6 separate regions of the Homo sapiens genome follow, and regions 1, 3, 4, 5 and 6 are each linked to region 2. Evidence: promoter capture Hi-C in 16 types of primary human blood cells and fetal thymus (Javierre and others, 2016). All regions are on one chromosome and are shown on one strand. Each heading gives the region's core, a stretch centred on a gene start or on the middle of the fragment in contact. The rest is flanking DNA. Distances are from core to core; before and after follow the strand shown.

What was found. Contacts are between HindIII fragments. The CHiCAGO score rates a contact against its expected background, and 5 or more counts as called.
Region 1: a fragment that was not itself captured here is called in contact with the fragment with the promoter of PI15 in region 2 in 3 of 17 cell types (M0 macrophages, M2 macrophages and endothelial precursors); the score reaches 6.2 in M0 macrophages.
Region 3: a fragment that was not itself captured here is called in contact with the fragment with the promoter of PI15 in region 2 in 3 of 17 cell types (monocytes, M2 macrophages and endothelial precursors); the score reaches 6.5 in monocytes.
Region 4: a fragment that was not itself captured here is called in contact with the fragment with the promoter of PI15 in region 2 in 4 of 17 cell types (endothelial precursors, M2 macrophages, megakaryocytes and 1 more); the score reaches 6.9 in endothelial precursors.
Region 5: a contact is called between a fragment that was not itself captured here and the fragment with the promoter of PI15 in region 2, in 1 of 17 cell types (monocytes). The highest score is 5.3, in monocytes.
Region 6: a fragment that was not itself captured here is called in contact with the fragment with the promoter of PI15 in region 2 in 5 of 17 cell types (erythroblasts, M2 macrophages, M0 macrophages and 2 more); the score reaches 8.6 in erythroblasts.

The regions. Positions count from the first base shown.
Region 1 is chr8:74,417,937-74,421,228 of GRCh38, forward strand. It overlaps a transcript of GDAP1 not described here. Among named protein-coding and RNA genes, the nearest start is that of GDAP1, 69 kb to the left of the region's middle. The HindIII fragment of the contact is 2,246 bases long and covers 244-2,489 here.
Region 2 is chr8:74,822,921-74,825,958 of GRCh38, forward strand. PI15 (peptidase inhibitor 15) reads left to right here and starts at 1,614. Exons shown (of 6, transcript NM_015886.5): 1 at 1,614-1,755; 2 at 2,290-2,602. The coding sequence starts at 2,330. The HindIII fragment of the contact is 3,900 bases long and covers 1-2,645 here.
Region 3 is chr8:74,383,514-74,386,661 of GRCh38, forward strand. It overlaps a transcript of GDAP1 not described here. Among named protein-coding and RNA genes, the nearest start is that of GDAP1, 35 kb to the left of the region's middle. The HindIII fragment of the contact is 4,646 bases long and covers 1-3,148 here.
Region 4 is chr8:74,401,698-74,404,672 of GRCh38, forward strand. It overlaps a transcript of GDAP1 not described here. Among named protein-coding and RNA genes, the nearest start is that of GDAP1, 53 kb to the left of the region's middle. The HindIII fragment of the contact is 1,165 bases long and covers 1,012-2,176 here.
Region 5 is chr8:74,333,205-74,336,483 of GRCh38, forward strand. No RefSeq gene overlaps it. Among named protein-coding and RNA genes, the nearest start is that of JPH1, 13 kb to the left of the region's middle. The HindIII fragment of the contact is 6,009 bases long and covers 1-3,279 here.
Region 6 is chr8:74,360,430-74,363,129 of GRCh38, forward strand. GDAP1 (ganglioside induced differentiation associated protein 1) reads left to right here. Exons shown (of 6, transcript NM_018972.4): 4 at 1,455-1,549; 5 at 2,510-2,624. Among named protein-coding and RNA genes, the nearest start is that of GDAP1, 11 kb to the left of the region's middle. The HindIII fragment of the contact is 1,047 bases long and covers 928-1,974 here.

The sequences.
Region 1 (3,292 bases), core at 117-2,616, 410 kb before region 2:
CCAATTCAATAGCTTTGAAATACATAGGCATAAATCTAGCAAAACAAGTACTGGGATCTATATATTGAAAATGACAAATTGCTGATGAAAGAAATCTAAGAAGGCCTAGATAAGTGGAGAGACAAATTGTTTTCATGGATTGGGAATCTCAACATTTCAAAGATTTCAATTCTTCCAAACTGATTTGTACATTTAATGCCATTCCAATCAAAATCCCGGCAGATGTTTTTGTAGATATAGATAAGCTTGTTCTAAAATTTGCATGGAAAAGCAAAAGAACTACAATAGCCAAAACAATTGGCTAAAGAGAAGACCAAGTTGGGGAAATTATGCTACCCAGTTTTAAGACTTACCACAAAGCTACAGTATTCAAGTTGATGTGGCATTGGTGAAGGGATAAGCATATGGGTCAATTGAACAAAACAGAGAGTCTAGGAAATAAACTCACAGAAATATGGCCAATTGATTTTTAACAAAGAAGCAAAGGCAATTTAGCAGAGATATTATAATGTTTTTGGCAAGTAGTATAGGAACAATTGAATATCAATATTAAAAACCTCAACCTAAATCTAATGCTTTGAAAAATTAACTCAAATTACTTCACATATATAGATGAACAACAAGTAACTATAAAAGTTTTACAAGAGGACAAGGGACTGTTGTGCCCTGGATTAGGCAAAGAAATCTTAGGCATGACACTAAAAGCATGGTGCATAAAAGGAAATCTTGATAGAATGGACTTCATCTAAAATAAAACTTTTGCTCTCTGTTAAGAGCTCTGCATTAAGTGTTAAGACAAGGAAAAGACAAAATACAGACTGGTAGAAAATATTGGCAAATCTCATATTCAGCAAAGGTCATGTATTTAAAACATATAAACAACTATCAAATGCAACAATTATAACAAACTATTCAATTAAAAAAATAGACAAAAGACTTTAACAGACATTTCATCAAAGAGGATATACAGATAGCAAATAACCACTTCATAGTTATTTAGCATCATTAATTGTTAAAGAAATTCAAATTAGAAGCATGGTAAAATAACAGCAAAACGTTTATTGGAATGGTTAAATTAAACATACTGGCAATACCAAGTGCGGGAGAATGCAGATCAAGTGAAAGTCTCATACATCGCTCCTGGGAAAGCAAGATGGTGTAGTCACTCTGAAACATTCTTCGGCAGTTTCTTATAGTTAAACCTGCACTTACCATATAACTCAAAAATTCCACTTCTAGGTGTCTACTGTAGAGAAACAAAAACTTGTGTTCACACAAAACGCTTATATAAATGTTTATGGTGGTTTTCTTCATAATTGCCTCCAAGTAGAAACCATCCAAATGTCTTCCAACAAGTGAATGATAAACTGTGGGGTATTCATATAATGTAATAGTTCTGAACAATGAAAAAGAATGTCCTATTGATACATGCAACAACTTGGAGGAAGCTCAAAGGCATTCAGAGTAAGAGAGGCCAGTCTCAACAGGTTACATTCCATTTATATTACATTCTTGGAAAGAAAAAACTGTAGCAATGGAGAACATATTCGGGTTTGGGGATTTGCCTATTTTAAAATTGGGATGCTTGCTTTTCTTGTCATTGAGTTGTAAGAGTTTATGTATTCTGGACACTAGACCCAAGAGAGCTATTATTTGAAAATATTTTCCTACACCCTGTAGGTTGCCTTTTCTTGATAATGTCTTTTAATAGAAAACATTTTTAAATTTAATGACATTATATTTATTTTTTCTTTTCTTGCTCATGCTTTTGGTGTCATATCCAAGAATCTATTGCCAAATCCAAGGTTATTAAGAATTATCTCTGTTTTCTTCTAGGGGTTCTCTGGTTTCAGCTTTTATACTTAGGGCATTGATCTATTTTCAGCTAATTTTTATATATGGTGTGATGTAGCCAGTCCACCTTCATTCTTTTGCATGTGGATATCCAGTTTCTCAGCACCATTTGTTGAAGAGACCATTTTCCCCATTGAAATGGTTTTGGGACTCTTGATGACAAAAAATTGGCCATACATATATGGATTTATTTCTGAGCTCTCAATTCTATTCCATTGGTCTCTATGTTTGTCCTTATGACAATACCACACTGTTTTAATTACTGTAGTTTTGCAGTAGGTTTTGAGATTCGGAAATATGAGGCCTCCAACTTTGTTCTTTTTCTGGATTGTTTTGGCTGTTTGGGATCCCATGCAATTCCATATAAATTTGAAGACTGGCTTTTTTATTTCTGCAAGAAAAGGCTATTGGAATTTTGGTGGGAACTTCATTTTTTAAATTATAGTGGAGTGTCATAAAAAATGGAAGTGGTCAGTCTTTTATGCTCAGGCCCTGGTTGAGTATCAACATAATAAAGTAGGAAAAGCCTGGCATTTGTAATTTATAGACCCAGGTTCATGTTTCTGGATCAGTTGCTTAATTTTCAGGGCCTTACTTTCTACACTTAGGAAATGAAGGTATCAAAGAGAACTCTAAGCTTCCTTTAACTCTTATATATTATAATTGTAGGTTAGCATAGAATAAAGCCAAGTAAAATGTTGGTGAGAAATTTCAGAGGATAAAGGATTCTAATGGTTCACTGTCCTATAACAACACAAACAGTAACAACAGCAGCAGTAACAACACCTGCAGCTACCGTCTCTTGAATGTGTCAGATGCTGTGCGGAGTGCTTTGCATTACCTACTTCATTTCTTCCTTAATGTGACTCTCTGAAGTAGTTATTATTATCACCATTATACAGATAAAGACAACGAACATCAGTTTGTCTTTTGTGTTCAAGGTTATGTGGGTAGTAGATAGTAGAAATGGGACCAAAGTGTGTTCATTGTAAATTACACTGTGGTATACTGATTCCTGTATTTTTTTTTTAATGTTTCAGCAATCTAGTGGTTAATGCTTTTTATTTTATTTTAAGTTCTGGGGTACATGTGCCATGGTGGGGCCTGGTTATTACTTGGATGGGAGCCTGAGTCTTTTTTATTATAAGTATTTTTCTTTTCCATCCTGAAACTCTTCTCTTTCCTCATCTTTATTGCTTTCACTTATATCATAGCTCTGGGATAATCAGAAGAGATAGATGATACATAGATAGATAGATAGATAGATGATAGATAGATAGATAGACAGATATTGCTATTGTGGACTTAAAAGGATTGCTTTTCTATTGGGTGAAGCAACTCCAATTGCTCTTCTCATGGGGACAGAAACATTGACCAAGCTTCTGATCTGTGCAGAGGCAAGGAGGCAGTAATAAACCTTGCCCTAAAATGTAGTTTT
Region 2 (3,038 bases), core at 364-2,863:
CAACCATGTGAATTTCCTCTAGTTGCTCCAATGTTTCATAATATCCTTGCTCACCTCCTGAGTTTATATATCTGTTTATGCCTTTTCAAGTTTAGTATTAATTCCTTGTTTAAAGCTCTCAATATTTCAGCTATGGCTCTCCTAAAATGATTTCACTTTAGTTAGGAGTTGAATAGTCATCAAAATGTGTCAAAACCTGGACTTTGGTATATATTATTATAAAGTCTGTATCTCATCACTGTAGTTTGAATTTTAGTGACACCTCTGGTACACCTCACTACCCTCTTAAAGAACTTGATGATGTCTGTCTCACCATAGAACGTGAATCTTTTCTCTCCCATTTTTAGGTGCACCAATGAAGAGTTAAACAGTATGCATTTGACCACACATACTACTCGTGATCCAACTGGGAATATATCCTAGGAAACTTGGCTGCCTGTCCAGTGTGCCACATGACCATCATTTCTGATGACTGTAAATTCACATAGTATTTCTTCTGCTGAAACATGTGGGAGACAATCACATTAGCAAGCTGGAAAAAATCAGTGTAAGTTAAGTAAGTTTCTAAACTGAAGAGCGTGTGTTTTCCAGGATTCCTATTGCTACTGACTGTAAGTGGTCCACATTTTGTTAATGAGATCATGACGCATTTTGGGGAGGGTCCTTTCATTATAGAGCACCAATGTTCACATTCTTCTTCTTGCTTTGCCTGACATAGACTTTGCCCCTGTGACATCCTCCTAACAAGGCACTTCTAATTGTTGGCAGCTGCTGCTGCTGTTAAAATTCTTCATGGCCTCTGTGTTATGCCCTCTAATACATTTCCTGAGAGGCTGAGCTATTCTCTGCTTAAAATTTCAACTATATGCTCTAAACCTGAAACAGATGTTATCTTGGCTGCTGTCATTTGCCATGAGCTTCTCTATTCACATTTTATACAAGGCAGGTAAAAAGCAAGTAATTTCTGACCTCACTCTGTAGAGAAAGAAAAAAGGGAGAGAAGGTAAAATAAGAGAGAGAAGAAGAAATATATAAAGCACAGGAATGCAGCCACATGGAAGCAGAGAACACAGCCACTTGAGCATCTATTATCCTAATATCATATGCTATAGTTTGGTTACTACCGATTTGCCTGGCATCCCTCTCGAATCATATTTGTGGCCACCCAGATTAACTATGTTAGCTGATCTCTTGATTTAATATCAGCTTGTTCTTTTTAGCTCCCATGTCATTTACTGTCTTAAAAAAATGTACTGCTTGTTACTCAACTGTCTGTTTTTTCATGAACCCACAGTCTTTTTTTTTTTTGTCTTTGTTTCTTCTTTTTTGTATGGGAACCAGGAACTAGAAAGCATAAAATGAGAGAAATTACTCACAGAAAAGGTGGAAGCCCAGAGAAAAAGGGGTTTGTCTTTTATGGCTTGTACTTTGTAAGCTGTGGGTGTGACTCAATTTCCTCACCACCCACATAAAAAGGTTGCCACCCAATCACTGTTTTTTTCTACCCCAAACCCCTCCCCTTTGATTTTGGCTAAGAGAGACCCTTAGAAAGACTGCCCTTTCTGGACGTTGCAAACTGTGACATATAAAAGCTGTTAGCTGCTCCTCTAGCCAGCAGCATTCAAACCTTGCAGAGCTTTGCTCTCAGAGAGTTTGTAAAAAGACACACTCCTCTTACAAGAGTTCATGCTACCACATAGCAAAGAACCTTAAATTTTTGGAAGAACAATATATTCATTTTGGCATTGTGCAGAGGTAAGCTATTTAGCTCAACAAGTTTATATTGCATGCATTGATTTTAAAGTAGCTCACATTTTTTTAAAGAAATGAGATTGGATTACTATGACTTTTTTGTATGTGTTCTATCACTTGGTGTGTCTATATGTCTGGCAGACATTATCAGCACATTCTCTGTTGTTACCTGTGATTCATTTTTTCTTCACTCTCCAGGTGAATTTCAATTGCTGAAAATTTCCCACTGAAAATATGCAGTAATATATTTTGTGGTTCAGACATTTGGGGCAAATGGTTCACATTCATTTTAGGGTTAGTGGTCATGCTGTTTATTTTTCTCTGCTATACAAAGTTCCTCTTAGGGGTCTGCCTCATGACACTAAAAAATGAATAGAGATTCTACTGTAGGTTATCTCCTAGGCTTGAGTTCAACATTTGTTTGGATTTTTGAAGAAAGTCAAATCAAGCAATGCTCCCAAATGATGTCTTTGTAAATTCATACCCTCTGGCCCTATTTTTTTTCATAGACCCTAACTCTACCTTTCTGCTTTAAAGCAAAGTAAACTCGGTGGCCTCTTCTTCTCCACCCCTCAAAATGATAGCAATCTCTGCCGTCAGCAGTGCACTCCTGTTCTCCCTTCTCTGTGAAGCAAGTACCGTCGTCCTACTCAATTCCACTGACTCATCCCCGCCAACCAATAATTTCACTGATATTGAAGCAGCTCTGAAAGCACAATTAGATTCAGCGGATATCCCCAAAGCCAGGCGGAAGCGCTACATTTCGCAGAATGACATGATCGCCATTCTTGATTATCATAATCAAGTTCGGGGCAAAGTGTTCCCACCGGCAGCAAATATGGAATATATGGTAAGAAGAATTCTTTTTTTTTTTTTTAAGTTCTGAGTGAGAAAGCTTTATATTGTACATCTGCAGAATCTCAAACGACCACGAGTGTTTATATGTCCGGGTATATGGACTTTTTACATATTTTAACCTAAGGTTCTTATGTGCCTAATAATGTTGAGTACTGTTGCATCACAGAATCAGAGAGACAGAGAGGTCCAGAGAGACAGAGACAGACAGATAGAGAGAATCTATGTAGACTTTCTTCTGTGAGTTCCATAGCTACTGGTGAATTGTATCTTATGTAAGAATCATAGATAAAAAGTGGGGTATGTTGACTGATCACATTTGGAAGGTCCACTTTAAAAAAAGTCACATGAACTTTTTCTGTGCTTTATCTCACAGTCATATTTATCAGCTATATCATTTCTTGAAAATACTTCTTAAAATTATAGGTTTC
Region 3 (3,148 bases), core at 465-2,964, 440 kb before region 2:
TTTTTCAGTTTCTACAAATATTTCCATCCTTAATTTAAAAATGTGTTTCTCTAGCAAAAGAGAATCCAACACTATATATAAGCCTTGACAGAAATCTCATTTCCAAATCTTTCTTTTCATCTTCCTCCAGTCAGAGGCTTAATCACTTCTTTATCTACATCCTCTGACATTAATGAGCCATACCTCTTTTCCATACTCTCTCCATACAGTTGGAAGAAGTTATTTTTCTCTTAGTTTGCCAGTTTATCAGGTTTGGTTTTTAGCTGCACCTATTGCCGATTCACTTCTTCCATGAAGCCTTCCAATCAAAATCTATGAAATGCCAGAAAGGAAACACATACACTCACAAATATAACAGATATTTTTTCCAACCTGTGAATCAACCCTGCATCTTGGTGGTTGTAGGTATCTAAGAAGTAAGATCGTTTAAGTCTCATGTTGTTACATAACACGCATGAATTCAACCCTTAACTCCAAGGTGCAGATTTCCTGCCTCTGAAATGATGAGAATAATGATTTTATTATTTACTTCACAGGAACTTCTTATTTGGAATACAATCAGCTGAATTCAGACAATGCACTGATAACTGCTTGCTTTTTAAAACATTCTGATGTTTATTTTAAAAACAATTTGTTGAATTTAGTCCATTAATATATAATGTAAGTTAACACTTTCTTCCCCGAGAAGATTGTGTGTGTTCACGCCTCTTGTAGCTCCTGGTAATTCACTTCAATGGGGGAAATAAAAACTGGCAGTAACAAACTGTATTATACAATTTTTAAAAATTCTTCTCAGGCAATCTCTTTTTCAACCACTGTTTTGGTTCCAGAGCCCATGCATGAACAATTTTTATATTTTTCCAAAGTAAAAATTGTTTTCTTCAGGTCTTTTCTTTCCACTAGGAAGTCATGTTTTCCCTATGAATGGAACTTAAACCCCAATTGTTCAACTCTAAATTTAAAACCCACAAAATTTGGCCTAAAGTAAACAAAACACATTCAGTCTCTTGTTTCTAATTGCTCGAAATTCTATCCAGGTTTTCCAAAAGTTGATTGAGTCTTACCAACATTTTCTGTGAACCACACATGGATTTCAAGTTTACAGAGAAACCCCAAACCTCTAGAAATAAACCCCACATCAAGAAGATTTCATTTGGTTTCAGGTTTCACTACAAAAATTCAATATAACTTCATTAAAAAAGCACTAAGTAACACTGTAAGAAGTTGATCTCTGTCGCCAACGAAATGCCATGCTTATGTATCATTGTGTAGCTGCACCGACTTACATCTTTATGTCTTGAGTAAAATCCACTCTATATTTTGCAGTTACTACAACTATGCCCATTTTATTTATAGCTGAAGTCGCAATACTGACTTTACATGTTGAAATTACACTAAAAAGTATACTAAGGAACAATATCCATATGGGTATGGATCTATTCCAAACCACAGTTGAATGCTTTGCTAGCAAAGCAAATAATATGGATGCTAAATAGCTAAACACTAATCTATTAACTTCTACTAAAATACTAGAATCACAGAACTGGAAAGGGACTTTAAGGAATTTTTTAAAGATCATGGTACATCTTCTGCGGTAGGAATTAGATATTACCAAACCCAAGTCGCTTATTTTATGGATAAAGAGATAGGTGGTATATAGATCTTTTTATTATTATTATTATAGTTTAAGTTCTGGGATACATGTGCAGAATGTGCAGGTTTGTTACATAGGTATACAAGTGCCATGGTGGTTTGCTGCACCCATCAACCCATCATGTACATTAGGTATTTCTCCTAATGCTATCCGTCCCCTAACCGCCCCCACCACCAACAGGCCCCGGTGTGTGATGTTCCCCTCCCTGTGTCCATGTGTTCTCATTGTTCAACCCCCACTTATGAGTGAGAACATACAGTGTTTGGTTTTCTGCTCCTGTGTTAGTTTGCTGAGAATGATGGTTTCCAGCTTCATCCATGTCCCTGCAAAGAACACGAACTCATCCTTTTTTGTGGTTACATAGTATTCCATGGTGTATATGTGCCACATTTTCTTTATCCAATCTATCATTGATGGACATTTGGACTGGTTCCAAGTCTTTGCTATTGTGAACAGTGCTGCAATAAACATACGTGTGCATGTGTCTTTATAGTAGAATGATATATAATCTATATAATCCTTTGGGTATATACCTAGTAATGGGATTGCTGGGTCAAATGGTATTTCTGGTTGTAGATCCTTAAGGAATCCCCACACTGTCTTCCACAGTGGTTGAACTAATTTAAACTCCCACCAACAGTATAAAAGCATTCCTGTTTCTCCACATTCTCTTCAGCATCTGTTGTTTCCTGACTTTTTAATGATCACCATTCTAATTGGTGTGAGATGGTATCTCATTGTGGTTTTGATTTGCATTTCTCTAATGAACAGTGATGATGAGCTTTTTTTCATATGTTTATTGGCCGCATAAATGCCTTCTTTTGAGATCTGTCTGTTTCATATCCTTCACCCACTTTTTGATGGGGTTGTTTGTGTTTTTCTTGTAAATTTGTTTAAGTTTCTTATAGATTCTGGATATTATCCCTTTGTCAAATGGATAGACTGCAAATATTTTCTCCCATTCTGTAGGTTTCCTGTTCAGTCTGATGATAGTTTCTTTTGCTGTGCAGAAGCTCTTTAGTTTAATTAGATCCCATTTGTCAATTTTGGCTTTTGTTGCCATTGCTTTTGGTGCTTTCGTCATAAGTTTTTGCCCATGCCTATGTCCTGAATGGTATTGCCTAGGTTTTCCTCTAGGGTTTTTGTGATTTTAGGTCTTATGTTTAAGTCCTTAATCTATCTTGTATTAATTTTTGTATAAGGTGTAAGGATGGGGTCCAGTTTCAGCTTTCTGCATATGGCTAGCCTGTTTTCCCAACACCATTTATTAAATAGGGAATCCTTTCCTCATTGCTTTTGTCAGGTTTGTCAAAAATCAGATGGTTGTAGATGTGTGGCGTTATTCCTGAGGCTTTTGTTCTGTTCCATTGCTCTATATCTCTGTTTTGGTACCAGTACCATGCGATTTTTGTTACTGTAGCCTTGTAATATAGCTGGAAGTCAGGTAGCGTGATGCCTCTAGGTTTGTTGCTTTTGCTTGTGATTGTCTTGGCT
Region 4 (2,975 bases), core at 344-2,843, 420 kb before region 2:
GTCTTTGATGATGGTGATGTACAGATGGGTTTTTGGTGTGGATGTCCTTTCTGTTTGTTAGTTTTCCTTCTAACAGACAGGACCCTGAGCTGCAGGTCTGTTGGAGTTTGCTAGAGGTCCAGTCCAGACCCTGTTTGCCTGGGTATCAGCAGCGGTGTCTGCAGAACAGCGGATTTTCTTGAACCGCGAATGCTGCTGTCTGATCGTTCCTCTGTAAGTTTTGTCTCAGAGGAGTACCCGGCCGTGTGGTGTCAGTCTGCCCCTACTAGGGGTGCCTCCCAGTTAGGCTGCTCAGGGGTCAGGGGTCAGGGACCCACTTGAGGAGGCAGTCTGCCCGTTCTCAGATCTCCAGCTGCGTGCTGGGAGAACCACTGCTCTCTTCAAAGCTGTCAGACAGGGACATTTAAGTCTGCAGAGGTTACTGCTGCCTTTTTGTTTGTCTGTGCCCTGCCCCCAGAGGTGGAGCCTACAGAGGCAGGCAGGCCTCCTTGAGCTGTGGTGGGCTCCACCCAATTGGAGCTTCCCGGCTGCTTTGTTTACCTAAGCAAGCCTGGGCAATGGCGGGCGCCCCTCCCCCAGCCTCGCTGCCACCTTGCAGTTTGATCTCAGACAGCAGTGCTAGCAATCAGCGAGACTCCGTGGGCGTAGGACCCTCCGAGCCAGTTGCGGGATATAATCTCCTGGTGCACCGTTTTTTAAGCCCTTCGGAAAAGCGCAGTGTTAGGGTGTGAGTGACCCGATTTTCCAGGTGCCGTCTGTCACCCCTTTCTTTGACTAGGAAAGGGAACTCCCTGACCCCTTGCGCTTCCTGAGTGAGGCAATGCCTCGCCCTGCTTCGGCTCGCGCATGGTGCGCTGCACCCACTGTCCTGCGCCCACTTCTGGCACTCCCTAGTGAGATGAACCTGGTACCTGAGATGGAAATGCAGAAATCACCCGTCTTCTGTGTCGCTCATGCTGGGAGCTATAGACTGGAGCTATTCCTATTCGGCCATCTTGGCTCCTTCCCCAAAGCTTTTAATTTTTTGCACTAAAAGCAAAAAATACTTTTACTTTAAATATAAACAAATGACTTTTTTGCATATACAAAAAATCTTAAAGTTAACCTGTAAAATTTCCAATTTAGTAGAAGTTACTCCTTCATAAAATTATTTGTCAAGATATATCTGAACAGATATATAATTGATTATTCTTATTCTTTTGTTGTTGTTGTTGTTGTTGAGTTGTTCTAAGTAAAGACAATTCAAGTTTCAATGTATGATGTTTTTCAAAAGTTAATGAGAAAAAAGTTAATGGATATGTAGGAATTTATAGCACCTGGATAGAAATAGTTCTATAATATAAAAATGGACATTTTCATTACAAACACATACACGATAATAGTGCCCAAACAATCTGATGTTAAAATAAGCTAATTTTATATCTCGCAGTGATGGGAGAGTCATTCTCTGGGTGTATTTGGCCTATTAAAAACATTTAAATATTTCATTTAGTTTGACTACACTGGGTTTTTAAAAATGATATAGATGCTTTATCTTAATTGTTTAAGGTTTATTAGTATTGGAGTCTCCATCCTACCAATTTCATTACAGTATTGACTGCATTTTATTGTTTTATTTGAATAAAATCTAAAAGGAGGAAATAGAAGAAGAGGGGATTGCAAACAGATTTAAAAGTTTAATTATTAATTTTTTTTCTATCCTGTCAGAGAAAAGCACAGGGCATGTTTACATGTTTTATTTGGGTGAATATCTCAGTTTACCCGTTCTACATAGGAGATGACTAGAATTGCAAATGAACCCAGATGGTGGAATTTTCTTTTCTAAACAAGCTGGCCAAATATTTATAAGTTTTACACACTTAACGTTTTAGCTTTTGCTGGTGAAGCATATCTACTAAATTTCACCAGAAGTTCCAGTAAAAGTATATGGATTATGGTCAGCAGCATTTGGGTAAGACATTTGGGCAGATTTCTGACCTTGCCGGGTCTCTGTAGTGTATGTGTTAGTAACTTTTACAGATCACTTGATAGAACAGTGAGGATGAACTGTAATCATTAGAAGCGTACTGCCTGTCTACCTATGTTTAAATGTGAACCTTGATGGAGCTGCTTTTTTGTTAAGACTCAACTGAGATTTAAAAACTCAATACTCAAACTAAGTTGGTGTTATGTATAAAGCTTTGACAGTCTATATCTGCAAAGTTTTGTCTTTTATTCTCTTTGTTGAGCAAAATGTGTGAATAACCAGTCTTTAAATATGAGCCTGTAAAAAAGAAAGATCATAGGATAGTATTTTGAGTTTATCCAGTACAAATAATTGAGAATGTTAGAAATCTCTATGATAATAAAAAGATCACGAGACAAATTAATTCGTGATTAATAAAAATAATGATAATGGCTATTTCTTGAGTATTTACAATGTACCAGGAATATGTTAAGTGATACCTGCATACTCTCATTTGATTGCTAAGTGAGAATTATTTACTTTGTGCATTAACTTAAAAAAAATCCTGTCTTAGGCTTATTAATCACATCACTGTAATAATAGTATTAGGTTGGTGCAAAAGTAATTGCAGTTTTGACTATTACTTTTAAATGGCAAAACCACAATTACTTTTTCACCAACCTATAGTAGCTAGTATTTAGTAATATCATTAATAGTAATAGTAATATCATTTTCTAGATGATTACTATGTGCCGGGCCATTTATATGAATTAACAGAATCAATCATGGCAAAACTCTTCAAGATGTATATTATATAAATATATTTAATATAAGTTATTAAGTTATTCTCATTTTAAGAAGTGAATATACTGAGATGTAGAAAAGCTGAGTCACTCACCTAAGGTCACATGGCTACTCGGTGTGGAGTGAAGACTCCAGAAGCAAGTCTGTCTGGCCTCAGAGATTGCATTCTTAACCACTATTCTGTAATACCTCTCAAAGCTCTGTTCCTTACAAGTCCATGCTTATT
Region 5 (3,279 bases), core at 185-2,684, 490 kb before region 2:
CAGGAGGTGCTGTCTAGGGACCACTGGTCTTGGGAAGTCTGTCTCTTTCATCCACCTAGGAGAAGTAGTGGGGCTCAGTATCTGGGATAAGTAAGCCCCAAAGAGCTCTGCTTTTAGGTGATGACACAGTAAAGTACTCCCTGCCCTAGCCCTTTGTGGTTTCCAGCCACTTTAGAATGGCTGGAACCCTTGATTGAGCTGACGAGTTTCATATGGCCCTGGACTAGCTGGACATTGTGGCAACTGGGCACATTGGCCTGTCCCTGTTTGTGAGTATCAGCATCTGGATTAGCTGGATTTCCTGTCTACCACTCCTGGGGGTTAAGAGCAATGTTGAGACAGGAGGGGTATAGGGTTGAACACACAGGAAGAGAGTATGTTCAAGTGATCCTGGGACCACCTACTTCAGATTTTTTTTCAAGATGCTCTTTATTGTTGGATGAAAAAAACCAAATTTTTCTTTTCTACTACTATAAGCGTGTGGTGACTGCTGAATCATATATATCCCAAGAACTACTCTGTCCAAGCAGTAGTGGAATTTTGCCTACAAAATACAGCTTCTGAGGTCATTTTCATACTGACTATGGTGTATATTTTGTCTCTGATTAATGTCTGAGGAGGATCATCTTCAAATGCTGTTTCAGTTTATGATTCTTCCTGTCAAAGGCCACAGGTTACTTATTCTCAAAATGTATTGTTCTTTTAGATTGTTCCATGTTAACATAATTCATTAATTAAAATATTTAAAAATGTTAGAAAAGGTCTTTTCCACTCCTTACAGCTATTTCAGTGATGTGAATATCATCTTCAAGATTTCCTTTTTTCATTTACTGAATATATATGTAGCAAGTACCTTCTAAATAGAGTGCTTTGTAATGGGTATAAGGTCGTTAACTCCCTGCCCTCAGGGAATTTACAGTCCACTGAAAGGATAGATATTAAATCAATATATCATTGCCAATTGTTGTGCTACAGAAGAAACAGTAGTGCTATAAAAAAGAATAGCAAGGGATACTTTGAGTTAGATTGCAAGATCAGGGAAGGCCTCCCCATCCATCCCTGCACCCACCTACCCATCCATCCATTCATTTGTCCATTCATCCACCATTTATTCATCTATCTGCCTGCCTGCCCATGCATCCATCCATCCAACCATCCATCTACAGTCTATTTGTCCATTCACCCACCCATCCGTCTGTCTATCCATTTATCCACTATCCACCCACCCGTTCATCCATACATCATCCATCCATCCATCCATCCACCTACCCACTCACCCATCCATCCATCACTCATCCATCCATCCACCCACCCATTCATCCATCCATCATCCACCCACCCACTCACCCATTCATCCACCCACCATCTATCCACTCATTCATCCATCCATCCATGCATCTACCATCTATTCATTCACCCATTTATCTACCCACCTTTTCATCCTTCATCCATCATCCACCCATCATCTATCCATCCACTATCCACCCATCTACACACCCATCCCTCTATGTGGTCGCCTTCCGCCCATCCACCCATCCATCCATCCATCCACCCATCCACCCATCCATTCTTCCAATAGATATTGCTCAGATGCTTCTCTAAGAAAGTGACATTTAAGCCGAGCTCTGGAGGATGAGTAGGAGACAGCCAGAAAAGTAAGTAGTTCAACTGGAGAAGAGGAAATAATTATGAAAAGAGTGTGGCACAATGAGTGTGGCACATTGAAGGGACTGAGAAGGCTCATTGAGCAAAGGAGAGGATCTTGGTGAGAGATGATGGTGGGGAGGAAGGCAGGGACCAGGGCCTGTTTGTGATCTTACTCTAAGAGTTCAGTAAGAAGCAATGACTGTTTAGTCACTCCTCCCATAGCTGAGGTTGGGCAGAGAAAGCAAAATAGGCAGAAGTGTAGTATTAGAAAATACAAAAAGGTTGTTAAATTCTAGCCCTCCCTATTGGTTCTGATACGTATCCTGAAGCAAGATGTGACCCCTCTACTATAGAACAGTGTTTATTTTTAAACTTGAGAAATCCAGGAATAACTTTTGAAAGAAAACAAAAATGTGTTCAGACCTTTCTCCCATGGTGGATTAAATTTTATTATTTTTATTTAAATTTACAATCATTGTATATGTGTACTTTGATACATAAAATATAAGATACACCTCCGTATGCTTATAGTTTATTTACAACATAAAGCTAACATAATTGAAAACAAATAATATTCAAGTTAACAACCTGAATTTAGTGTGACAGATGATGTTTTTCATTTTAAAATGTTACGGTACTACCCATGGAGCCACACTCCTAATTTCAGCCCATGCGTCCTGCTAGATGCTGTTCAGGACTCTGCTTTGTGATCTAGTAGGAAGTCTTTCTTTGTACAGTGTGCTGGCATACCATTTGGCTATTGCTCGGTGGAGATGCATCAATTATGTATTAGGTCTGCTTTTCTTCTCATTAGTCAGAAACAATTAAAGTAGAAGGACTTAGTGCCAAAGTCAGCCTAAACATAAACATAAAATCAGCCTCTGAAATCAAGTAACAGCCCATGGAGATGAAAAATCTGGAAAGAATCAGCAGACCCCTTAGGATACATGGGTGAACTCCCATGGGTACGTGGACTTCTGTTTGGAATCCTGAGTGGATTATTCCTAGAGGAAAAAAAATAAAGGTAATGATTTCTTCTCACATAGATCCATAGGGACAGGATAAATTATACCTTTTAACATCCTAAAAAGGGATCATTAGACCCCAAGGTTTGGTATGGTCAAGATCAAGTGATCATTAAGATCTGAGACTAAGGAGAGACCAACTTGAGCGAGATCACACATCTCTGTGATTCCTGCTTATGGTATCCAGGACAAGCAGAATTAGAAAAAGGCGACTGAGAGGTCTTTGCCTCCTTGGCCATGTGGCTGAAAAAGGCTTAGAGAACTAGGCTCCAAAGTCAAGTCCACAAACTGATCCATTGGTTGTGGGAAGAAAATATAAGAGCCCTGGAAAACCTGAGCCCTGTTCTCAGGCACATAAAGAACAGTTCGCAAGGAAGTTTGAGTAGAGGCCCTGTAAAACTGAGAGCTCCAAACACTTTGTATAACTTGCCAAATGCAAAGAGCAGCCAATAAAAGAAATGTACATTTCATGACATGGCAGAAAGTGGTGTAGTCTCCATTTGTAAGCGGATTAGGTTAATATATATGAAATATCAGCTTAAGCTAGTTTCACTGTTTTCACAAGTCTTCTCATCATTCAACAATGTTCATTACTTCAGGAGCAGAG
Region 6 (2,700 bases), core at 201-2,700, 460 kb before region 2:
TCATGGATGTGCATGTTATGGATCGATCCATGAACCAGTCGGATTAATCTGTGCTTCACTTGCTCAATTGGACATTTATTGTCTATAGGACCTGATTTATCAGCTCTTGGCTTTGAGGGCCAATCTTGGGTAAAACTCAGAAGAGTGGATTATGGAAGAGTAAAGAATATAACATGTTCTCATGAACAGATGGACTAGGAATCTGAAAACCTGGGATCTGCCTAGGATTATGGGCAGTTGAGTTCATGTTACTGGTCCTTAATTGTTGTTTTCGTTATTTGAGGAAACTGGACTAGAGGGTGTCTAACTATTACTCTGTCTCTATGTTCAGTGATAGTAGATTTATTGGGATTGAGTTGTGACATCCAGCTTTCTGCCTTCCTCCTGTCATGAGAATAGTCAGTGCATGATCTGTGGAGCAGGAGGTGTGCTTTATAGCAGAGATAATTGGAGATAAGAAGGGAAAGGATTGTGGCAGTGGTCACACTTTGGGAATGTTGATCAGAAACACTCAAACTCAGATCTTCTAAATCCAGAAACCATGTGTTCCCCATTATGTGATACTCACCTTTATTATTCTTATTATTCTTTTTTTCCTTTTTGATACCCCTCCTTTTCCTCTCCTCTCCCTTCCCTTTTCATCTCTTCCCTTTTCTCCCTTCTCTTCCTTTTTCTCCACTGCCCTCTCTTCCTGCTTCTCTTTCCTCTTATTCCTCCTCCTCTTCATAAATACCCTTTATAGTATTTGAAACAAGAGTTTTGACTATAATTCTATGACCTATAGTTAATATTTTTTAAAAATAAGGCTTTTTCCTCCCTTCATATAGGAGTTCATTATAGAAAGCTTGAAAGGTAGAGGAAGGCGGAGCAGCAAGCCTGCACTGAGCACTGTAAAGTGCTGGGCCTTGCTCTAAGTGCTTCCCATGAAGCTTCTCATTTAGTCTTCATGGCAGATATTCTTTGTTTTTTTCTTTTCTTTTTTTTTTTGGATGGAGTCTCGCTCTGTTTCCATGCTGGCGTGCAGTGGCATCATCTCGGCTCACTGCAACCTCTGCTTCCTGAGTTCAAGTGATTCTCCTGCCTCAGCCTCCCGAGTAGCTGGGATGACAGGCATGCGCCACCACGCCCAGACAATTTTTGTATTTTTAGTAGAGACGGGGTTTCACCACGTTGGCCAAGATGGTCTCGATCTCTTGACCTCCTGATCCTCCCGCCTCGGCCTCCCAAAGTGCTGGGATTACAGGTGTGAGCCACCGCGCCCAGCCGGCAGATACTCTTATGGTTCCATTTGAAAGGTGAGGAAACTGAGGCATAGACAGGGTAAGCCCAAGGCAGAGAAGCAGGGCATGAGCCCCAGAGCTCATGCTCTTGTCATTGAGTTTCTCTGCTTCTCCTTGTTACTGGTGTAGAAGGGAGAAAATAATTTTCTGTTTCCAAAATGTTTTTATTATCAGGCCAAATTGGAAACACAGAGTCTGAGCTGAAGAAACTTGCTGAAGAAAACCCAGATTTACAAGAAGCATACATTGCAAAACAGAAACGACTTAAAGTAAGCCAATCAGCTGTCCTCAGTTGACATACACTGCACGGAGTAAATGTTCTACTTTTTGTAAAGTACCACTATTTCTAGAATATCTTCTTTTAAATATTGCAGTTCACCAGTACACATGTTACCTTTGGCTTATGTTCTCCTTTTAGAAAGAATTTTTTATTAGACTTGATATTGAAACTTGATGACAAGTGCTTAACAAGCAGATATTGAGCATGCTGGTTGCCAAAAAAGTTATGAAATGCAAAGGAAGTTCATAACATATTCTAGAATCTGTCATTTCAGGTATTCCACCACTGGAAGTCCTCGCTAGACCTACATCCCTCCATGTGTCGCCCTGACTTGCTTTGCCCCCTGAGGAGTGTGCTTTATGGTCAGCCTTTCTCCTTCTGTTGATTCCTTCCCCGGGCCCAGCAACTATTGCAAGCTTCTCTCATATTAAAAGTGTAGAAAACAGCAGCACTCCCAACCCTCCCCAACTTCCCACCTTCCTTTATCCTATCGTAGCTAAACGAGCTCCTCAGAAGAAACACCTGCACTCACAGTCACTTGACTGACTCTCCACTCGCCGTTTAACTCCTTCACTCGGACTTCTTACTCATCCCTGACCCTTCAGCTACTCTTTCAATTACGGCTGCTAGAATTCTTTTCCTGAGTTGGGCTTGGCAGATGGCTCTTCGTGTCCCTCCCATTCTTTGCCTTCTGTGGTCATCTGGCCTCATAGGAGCTGCCAGTGAGTGGTGGGTCTGCTCCTGGGTCATTTTCACAGCTGGGATATTTCCCTTCAACTTAGCTCTCTCTCTCTCTTTTTTTTTTTTTTTTTTTTGCTGAGTTTTTCTATTTCTTCTCGTTGTCTAAAATAGGCTGAACTCTGTAAGAGTTTGTATCTGCTTTACCTAGATTTATTTTTTTTAAAGGTGCAAATAATATGTTTGGTTTCTTTTTTTGGTGGTTAATTAGTCAAAGCTGCTTGATCATGACAATGTCAAGTATTTGAAGAAAATTCTTGATGAGTTGGAGAAAGTCTTGGATCAGGTTGAAACTGAATTGCAAAGAAGAAATGAAGAAACCCCAGGTAGGTTCTCATTTATATTCTTTCTCTCTTTTCAACATCAGTATTATTCATGGGAACATTCTTAGGTCTCACCAAA